Linked DNA regions of Homo sapiens: regions 2 and 3 are each linked to region 1. Evidence: promoter capture Hi-C in 16 types of primary human blood cells and fetal thymus (Javierre and others, 2016). All regions are on one chromosome and are shown on one strand. The core of a region is centred on a gene start or on the middle of the fragment in contact, and the rest is flanking DNA. Distances in the headings are between cores, read along the strand shown.

Region 1 (2,703 bases), core at 128-2,627:
GGTCAAGAAATCAAGGCCATCCTGGCCAACATGATGAAACCCCGTCTCTACTAAAAATATAAAAATTAGCTGGGCGTGGTGGCACATGCCTGTAGTCCCAGCTACTCAGGAGGCTGAGGCAGGAGAACTGCTTGAACCCGGGAGGCAAAGGTTGCCGGGAGCCGAGATCCTGCCGCTGCACTCCAGCCTGGCAACAGAGCGAGACTCCGTCTCAAAAAAAAAAAAAAAAAAAAAAGAGAGAACAATAAACACTGGGGACTCCAAAAGCAGAGAGGGAGGAGGGCACAAGGGTTAAAAACAATACCTATTGGCAGCCAGGTGTGGTGGCTCATGCCTGTAATCCCAGTACTCTGGGAGGCCGAGGCAGGCGGATCACTTGAGGTCAGGAGTTCGAAACCAGCCTGGCCAACATGGAGAAACCCCATCTCTACTAAAAATATAAAAAATTAGCCAGGCCTGGTGGTGCATGCCTGTGGCCCCAGTTATTCAAGAGGCTGAGGCAGGAGAATCGCTTGATCCCGGGAGGTGGAGGTTGCAGTGGGCCAAGATCGCGCCACTGCACTCCAACCTGGGTAACAGACAAATCCTGTCTCAAAAAAAGAAAAAGAAAAGGAAAGTCAGAAAAAAAAAGAAAGGAAAAGAAAGAAGAAGTTTAAAAAAAAAGGAAAAGAAAGAGAGAAAGAAAAAGGAAGGAAGGAAGGAAGGAAGGGAGGGAGGGAGGGAGGGAGGAAAGGTCAAAGGATACATAATTGCTTTCAAGGGATTAACCTTGCAACCCTGAATACATCGACATATACAACACTCTGAAGTGCTCACTTGATTTTCAGCCACAGGATGGGCTTCTCACTCACCTTCAGTAAGATACTAATAGCACAAGCCATGCCTACGGCACCAGTTCCAACAATAGTAATTTTACACTGGGAGTTTTCATCATCCTCAATTAGCTTCTCAATTAGCTGCTCCTTGACAGTTGACATTTGGAGAACCTGATAGGGATAATGCAATTTCATTGGATTAACCACACTGAACATCTAAGAAACTACCTCTTCAGTTTGCAGAATGTTGGAGCCGGGGATGGGGGGAAGCCAAAGAAAGAATTTCCTGGTCAAAGGATGCGGGGAGGGTAAAGCAAGGCCCAGTCTACCAGGCAATGGGAGGGCTGGGGCACCAGCGGGCTTTTGGATTTCTCCCTGCCCCCAGCCACCACTTTCACCCCAGCACCACACGCTCACAAATGCTTTGCTTGGCGCAATCAGTACAGATGACCCACAGGGACAAAGCACCACCTTTGAAGGAAGGCACAGAAGTGACACCAGAAAAATACACCAACGACAGTTGAGGCGCTAAGCCCGTCGACGGTTGCCCTCCGTGCGACTCGAGACACGCACGTTCCCCCGCTCGGCTCTTATGCGTCAGCACGCAAGCTCCGCCCCCCGCCGGCCCAGGCGCGGGCATGGGGCGTCTTTTCTGCCCTGGAGCGCAGTGTGGGTGGCGGCGGTCCAGATCACCGAAATGCTGATGGGAAGAATTCTAGACTGGCCCAAAGAGTGTGCAAGACGGGGATATCCATGCATTGTTTGCAGGATTTTAAAAAATTATTAACTTCTGTAACTTCAGGACTGAGTGCTGAAATAAAGTTAGAATTTCTCTTGAGAGAACAGAGGGTGGTAATGAAACGCAAAGACGCGAAGGATGCTTTCAATTTACAGCAAGAAATTGTTAATATTTATAACTCATGGCCGGACGCGGTGGCTCACACCTGTAATCCCAGCACTTTGGGAGTCCGAGGCAGGTGGATCACCTGAGGTCAGGAGTTTGAGAACAGCCTGGCCAACATGGCGAAACCCCGTCTCTACTAAAAATATAAAATTAGTCGGGCATGGTGGTGCATGCCTGTAGTCCCAGCTACTTGGGAGGCTGAGGCAGGAGAATCGCTTGAACCCAGGAGGCGGAGGTTGCAGTGAGCCAAGATCGCGCCACTGCACTCCAGACTGGGCAACAAGAGAGAAACTCCATCTCAAAAAAAATTTACATATATATTTTTTTTTTTGTGAGAGAGATATATATCTCACAGAAGGGGACACAACCTACTCCATCTTTTGTAGAGTATTTGCATTTGAACCTTTTTCAAAATCCAAAATATAATTTATTTTTCTTATAATAGCCTGTAGTGTTGTTATTGTTGTTGTTTTTGAGACAGAGTCTCACTCTGTCGCCCAGGCTGGAGTGCAGTGGCACAATCTCAGTTCACTGCAACCTCCGCCGCCTGGGTTCAAGCAATTCTCCTGCCTCAGCCTCCCAAGTAACTGGGACTACAGGCGTGCGCCACCACGCCCGGCTAATTTTTGTATTTTTAGTAGAGATGGGGTTTCACCATGTTGGTCAGAATGGTCTCCAACTCCTGACCTAGTGATCCGCCCTCCCAAAGTGTTGGGATTACAGGCGTGAGCCACCGTGCTGAGCCACCGTGCCCAGCCGCCGGGCAAATTTTTTTGTATTTTTTTGTATTTCACCTTGCTGGCCAGGCTGGTCTCGAACTCTTGACCTCAAGTGATCCACCCACCTCGGCCTCCCAAAGTGCTGGGATTACAGGCGTGAACCACCGCACCCAGTCAGTATTTGTTTTCAATATGGTTCAGATTATGCAATAACCCTGCTTTAAACTCTTCCGTGGCTTTCCATTACAGGTAGAGTAACCCACTT
Region 2 (2,703 bases), core at 134-2,633, 180 kb before region 1:
ATAAAGCTGGGGTTGAGGTCTTAGCATCTGCATTTCTAACAACTCCCAGCACCTGAGGCTGCAGATCTGGGGCTCACACTAGAAGACTCACTTCTCTAAACCACTTGTTCCCCCGTCTTATTTCCCTGACTTAGCCTCCTTGTCTCCACTCCCATCTTACTTCATTCTACTCCAGCCACACTGGCCTCCTTGCTGTGTTGAGCCTCCCTGGGCACATGCCTTAGGCTACTGCTTTGTCTGCACTCGGATTCGTAACACTTACTCCCTCACCCCTCAGTGAGACCTACCCCAATCTCCCTACCCTTTTCAGAATTTATTCTCCACAACACGTAATCAACCTTCTGACATGCTGAATAATTTACTTATTACATTTATTGTTTTGCTCTCTCTCTGCTAATAAAGGAATGACACCCTTAAGACATCAGCTATCTGAGTGTATTTTGTTCACGGCTGTATCCTGAGACCTGGAAAAATAGCTGGCAAGTAGTAGATGCTCAACAAAAACTTTCTGAATGAATGTTCCTTCCAGCTTTTCAGCTTCTTCTCCTGAGTCAGGGCAGCACTCCCTTCAGATCTTCCTATAAATACAATCTCTCTCCTATATGTCCAACCTCTTGACAATTACAATATCCAGCTCCTGGGACTTTTCGCTTCAGTGGCTCAGGCCAGGGATACAGGGCAGGTAAGTCAGCCATGGGCCAAGGAGATCAAACAACGCCAGAAAATTACTGTATCCTGCATCTCTTCTTCACCCACCTTCTCCAGATGACCTTATCCACCCATCTCCCTCCTCTCTTGTTTTCCAACTATTTGTTCACCTGGATTTCTCCTCTCTTTGACCACCAACATTGTTATGGCACCCCTAAAAAAAATAAAAAAAGCAACCACTCTCCCCGTGCTAAGCCACCCTCATGCTGGGGCTGTCCTATCTCCGCTTCTCCGGCAAGGCTCCTCCTGACTTTGTTTTTCCTTTCTACTCCCTGAAATTTTGCTTCTGAAGTTCCATTACCGCCTCCTTCCTAAATTCAACTGCAATTTTCGGTCTTGCTCTTTCCTGATACACTGTGGAATTTAATACATCTGTCTGGAAACTCTTCAAGAACACCGCGTGTTGCCTCTACCTCCTTTAGTGCTTCTACTCCGGTCCTTCCTAGTCTTCTCTTCATAAGTGTCCCCAAGTTTCCTTCCAGGAAGATGGGTCGTGGTTTCCTTGACGCCAATGCGTTTCTGGCCGTGCCCTCGTCACTTGCCCACTCCGGGGTCACGAAGGAGAGGCCCCGGATTCCGGGCGCAGCCGCGGCTGAGCCCGGGGCGTTGAATGCGGGTGGAATTTCCAGTCTGGGAAGGGGCGGGGCCTTGGACCGCCGGGAAGTTTGGTCCTCAGCGGCTTCCGTCCTGCAGCAAGTCCGGAAGAAGGTCCGGGGGCTGGAGTCCTGGGACCTAGCTCGGGACCGGCCTGGAGATGGAGTTCGACTGCGAGGGCCTGAGACGGCTGCTTGGCAAGGTGCGGGCAGTCCGCTGGGCCAGTTTGGGTCCTCAGGGTCTTGCGGGGGGTGCCTCTGCCTTTGGCCAGGTTGCCTCCGTTTTGCGTTTCCCGGCTTGTAGTGGGGCTTGGAGCCGGGGCGGCTGGTCTGAAACCGGCTATGGGGCGCGGCCCCAGGGAGGCTGAGGGGACCTGGATTCTGATTTCTCCCGCAACTCTGAGGTTTCCCAACCTCCACCTGGTGCGAGCCCTCCTCATACCCCCAGCTTCACTGACCTCAAACAGCTCCCAGCACACGCCTAACCACGCCTTTCTCTCTTTCTCTCTGCTGAAATGGTCTGCCTTTTTTTTCTTTTTTCTTGAATTGCAAAGCTCATCCTTTGTAAGACCCAACTCAGTCACTCCCTGTAAGATTGAATCAACCCTTCTGTTTTGAAAGATATCGATTATCACATTGTGGAGTAATTATGTATTTACAAACCGTAATCTTGCTGTGAGCCCCTTTGACTGCAGACATTGTGCTTTTGTATTCCCTTCCTCTAGCCACTATGTTTGACAACACCATAGGTACTAAGTAACTGTGCAGTGAATGAAAGACCTGAGTAGATTTAGAGATGAAGACAGAGCTTGAAGGCCCTGGAGAGATCTTAATGTTGGAAGGCTGGGGAGTAGGCGGGCCGACCTAGAAATCTGACCTATATTTCTGAGACCTGACTAGCCTGAGTTTCCGGTGTACAATCTGAGGGAATCCCCGCCAATTTTCTAGTTAAGAAGACTAGTTTTCACCAGTTTCCTAGTTAAGGTGGTTTTTTGTTTTTTGTGTTTTTTTTTTTGACAGAGTCTTGCTCTGTCCCCCAGGCTGGAGTGCAGTGGTGCGATCTAGGCTCACTGCAACCTCCACCTCCCGGGTTCAAGCCGATTCTCGTGCCTCAGCCTCCCAAGTAGCTGGGACTACAGGCGCGTGCCACCATGCCTGGCTAATTTTTGTATTTTAGTAGAGATGGGTTTTCACCATGTTGGCCAGTCTGGTCTCGAACTCTTGACCTCAAGTGATCCACTCGCCTGAGCCTCCCAAAGTGGTGGAATTACAGGTATGAACCACCGCACCCGGCCTTAAATAATTCTTAATGCTTCTTAAGACTTCCTAATGCAGAAACCATAGTTTATGCCATTTTTGTTATACTTGCCTCTTTCTTTGTTGGGGCAGTTTACATACCCGT
Region 3 (2,703 bases), core at 62-2,561, 170 kb after region 1:
ACAAAAGAACAGGAAAAGATGTCTTCATCTCCTGCTTGGCCCTCTAGCGCCCTCTATGGGTGAAGATTAACATCATGCCCAACTGGCAAAGGAGAAATGTTCACAGGGTCCAGCTCCAGCATCACAAATAGGACAAAGGGGTGGGTGTGGAGCTGAAAATAAAGAAACTGATAACTGGCATACCCCTTTTCTCTGAAAAAGGATTGAGGAGGACTCCTAAGGTGAGAAGACTAGTTATAAAATTATATTTACAGAGTAAAGACAAATTTATTTGTCAAGGAGGAAGAAAATGTATGGATATAAAGTAGAACTATTTACAACAGAACTTTCTCATACAGTTCTCATCAAAAGACACTAATAGAAGTGTAGGTATAGGAGGTATAGGAGGTTTGAGTCTGAGTCTCAAAGATGTGCCAATGCCAAAACAAGGCAAGGGCAAGATAAATAAGATGGAGAGAGGCGTGGAAGATTGGCTCATGGGAGCAGACTCAATGCACTGTTGAGATTAGTGTTCAGTCTAGTAAAGTCTGAGTTGACCCCAAGTTGTAAAAAAAGACTGTAATGCTATTATTACAATAGCAATTGTAAATGCTTACAATTAGATTTCTGTCACAAGTACTGAAGTTGTAGATTTTGGGGGGCAGGAGGGAGAGAAAGGGAGGATGAGAGAAAGAATGGCTTTCAAAGTCAAATAAAGCAAGCTTTCAAAGTCTAGTCTTTGTAGATATTCAAAACTTTGCAATCAACATATTATTACTAGAAATAATTAACTGAAGCAACATTTGGATACAGAAATTCATTCATCCGTCTGTAAAGGACCAAATCACTCCCCTTCTTGAAATCTATAATTTGAAAAAAAATTTAATTCAATATAGTCCATAGGTTCAGAGGAAGAAAAAGTATAAAAAAAACAAGAAAAAAATTTTTAAATCGAAATTTGTATCCAAGGAAAAAGGTGCTTGGTTTACCCAGGAATTTATAATTTGTAAAGTCACACCTAATACCTATGCTCTGGCACACCCAAATACCTTTTATTAATTACTTGGTTTTCCTCAGTAAGAATTAACATGCTTCTCTCTGTTAGAAAAGTTTGAGAAAGGGAAATTGCATTGCTCTTTGTTATAGTTGTGTTTTGTTTTGTTTCGTTATTTGAGACAGCATCTCCCTCTTTCATCCAGGCTGAAGTGCCATGGCATGATCATGGCTCACTGCAACCTCGACCTCCCGGGGCTCAAGAGATCCTCCCACTTCAGCCTCTTGAATAACTGGGACTGCAGATGTGCGCCATGACACTTGCCTAATTTTTATATTTTTTGTAGAGATGGGGTTTCGCCGTGTCACCCAGGCTGGTCTTGAACTCCTGGGCTCAAGTGATCTGCCTGCCTCAGCCTCCCAAAGTGCTGGGATTACAGGCATGAGTCACTGAGCCCAGCCTACTGTTATATTTATTTTTGTGTCGGTTTGAGGCTGCCCAGATTCACATTGTTTCTGGGGTCGTCTGTGAGGGTGTTTCCAGAGGAGATTAACATTTGAATTGGACTTAATAAAGTAGATTGCTATTCTCAATGCAACTGGGCATCACCCAATCTGTTGAAGGCTTGAATAGAACAAAAATAGAGGAAGGACAGATTTGCCTCCCTTTTCCCCTGCCTCACTGCTTGAGTTGGACATCTCCTCTCATCTTCTCTTGCCCTCAAATTGGATTTACGTGATCAGTTGCTCTGGTTCTCAGGCCTTTGAACTCAGACTGAATTACACTTTCCTGAGTTTCTAGCTTGCAGAGGGCAGATCGTGGGACTTCTCAGCCCCAATTATCTTGTGAGCCAATTCCTTACAATAAATAAATACATACATACATACACAAATAAATTATTTGTCCTGTGTCTCTCAAGAACCCTGACTAATAGGGTATCCAAGCTTTTCAGTCTTATCTCCTATGACTAATTAATGTGCCTCATGCTACATGCAAATTGAGCTGCTTGTTATTTTTAAACATGTCATTGAATTAGGAATTATTTCAAACGTTCAGAAATGTGCTTCCATGTGTTCATTCAGCATTTATTATTGTTATTTAAAATATTCATTCATTTATTTATTTATAGATTTAGGGGGTACAAGTACAGATTTGTTACACTGATAGATTGCATAATGGTGAAATCTGGGTTCTTAGTGTAACCATCACCCAAGTAGAGTTCATTGTACCTGTCAGGTAATTTCTCAATCCTCGGCCCCCTTCTGCCCTCCATCTTTCTGAGTCTCCAGTGTCCATTATTCCACTTTCTATGTCCATGTGTACACATTATTTAGCTCCCATTTATAAGTGCGAAAATGTGATATTTGACTTTCTGGGTTATTTCACTTAAGATAATGGCCTCTAGTTCTATCTATGTTGCAGCAAAAGATACGATTTCATTCTTTTTAATGGCTGAATAGTATTCTATGGTGTATATATGTGTATACAGACATACACACACACCCCTCCAATCATTCGTTGATTAACCTAAGACACTTAGGTTAATCCCATATTTTTGCTACTGTGAATAATAGTGTTGTGATAAATACATGCATTCAGGTATATTTTTTATATAATGATCTATTTTCCTTTGGGTAGTACCCAGTAATGGGACTGCTGGGTCAAATGGTAGCTCTATTTTTAGTTCTCTGGGAAATCTCCATACTGCTTTCCACAGAGGCTGTACTAAT

Evidence for each region. Contacts are between HindIII fragments. The CHiCAGO score rates a contact against its expected background, and 5 or more counts as called.
Region 2: a contact is called between the fragment with the promoter of UEVLD here and the fragment with the promoter of LDHC in region 1, in 1 of 17 cell types (neutrophils). The highest score is 5.0, in neutrophils.
Region 3: a contact is called between a fragment that was not itself captured here and the fragment with the promoter of LDHC in region 1, in 2 of 17 cell types (monocytes and M2 macrophages). The highest score is 5.5, in monocytes.

The regions. Positions count from the first base shown.
Region 1 is chr11:18,410,992-18,413,694 of GRCh38, reverse strand. LDHC (lactate dehydrogenase C) reads right to left here and starts at 1,377. Exons shown (of 8, transcript NM_017448.5): 1 at 1,287-1,377; 2 at 852-986. The coding sequence starts at 977. The HindIII fragment of the contact is 7,298 bases long and covers 1-2,703 here.
Region 2 is chr11:18,587,414-18,590,116 of GRCh38, reverse strand. It overlaps UEVLD (UEV and lactate/malate dehyrogenase domains), which reads left to right and starts at 1,383. Exons shown (of 12, transcript NM_001040697.4): 1 at 1,383-1,504. The coding sequence starts at 1,463. It overlaps LOC112268073 (a long non-coding RNA gene), which reads left to right. Exons shown (of 4, transcript XR_002957242.2): 4 at 1-24. RefSeq lists enhancers at 1,266-1,315, 1,221-1,515, 1,576-1,635, 1,676-1,825, 2,226-2,335. The HindIII fragment of the contact is 11,919 bases long and covers 1-2,703 here.
Region 3 is chr11:18,241,295-18,243,997 of GRCh38, reverse strand. The region is part of intron 3 of SAA2-SAA4 (SAA2-SAA4 readthrough); the gene reads left to right. It also overlaps a transcript of SAA2 not described here. Among named protein-coding and RNA genes, the nearest start is that of SAA4, 5.8 kb to the right of the region's middle. RefSeq lists a silencer at 1-196 and an enhancer at 1-216. The HindIII fragment of the contact is 1,216 bases long and covers 704-1,919 here.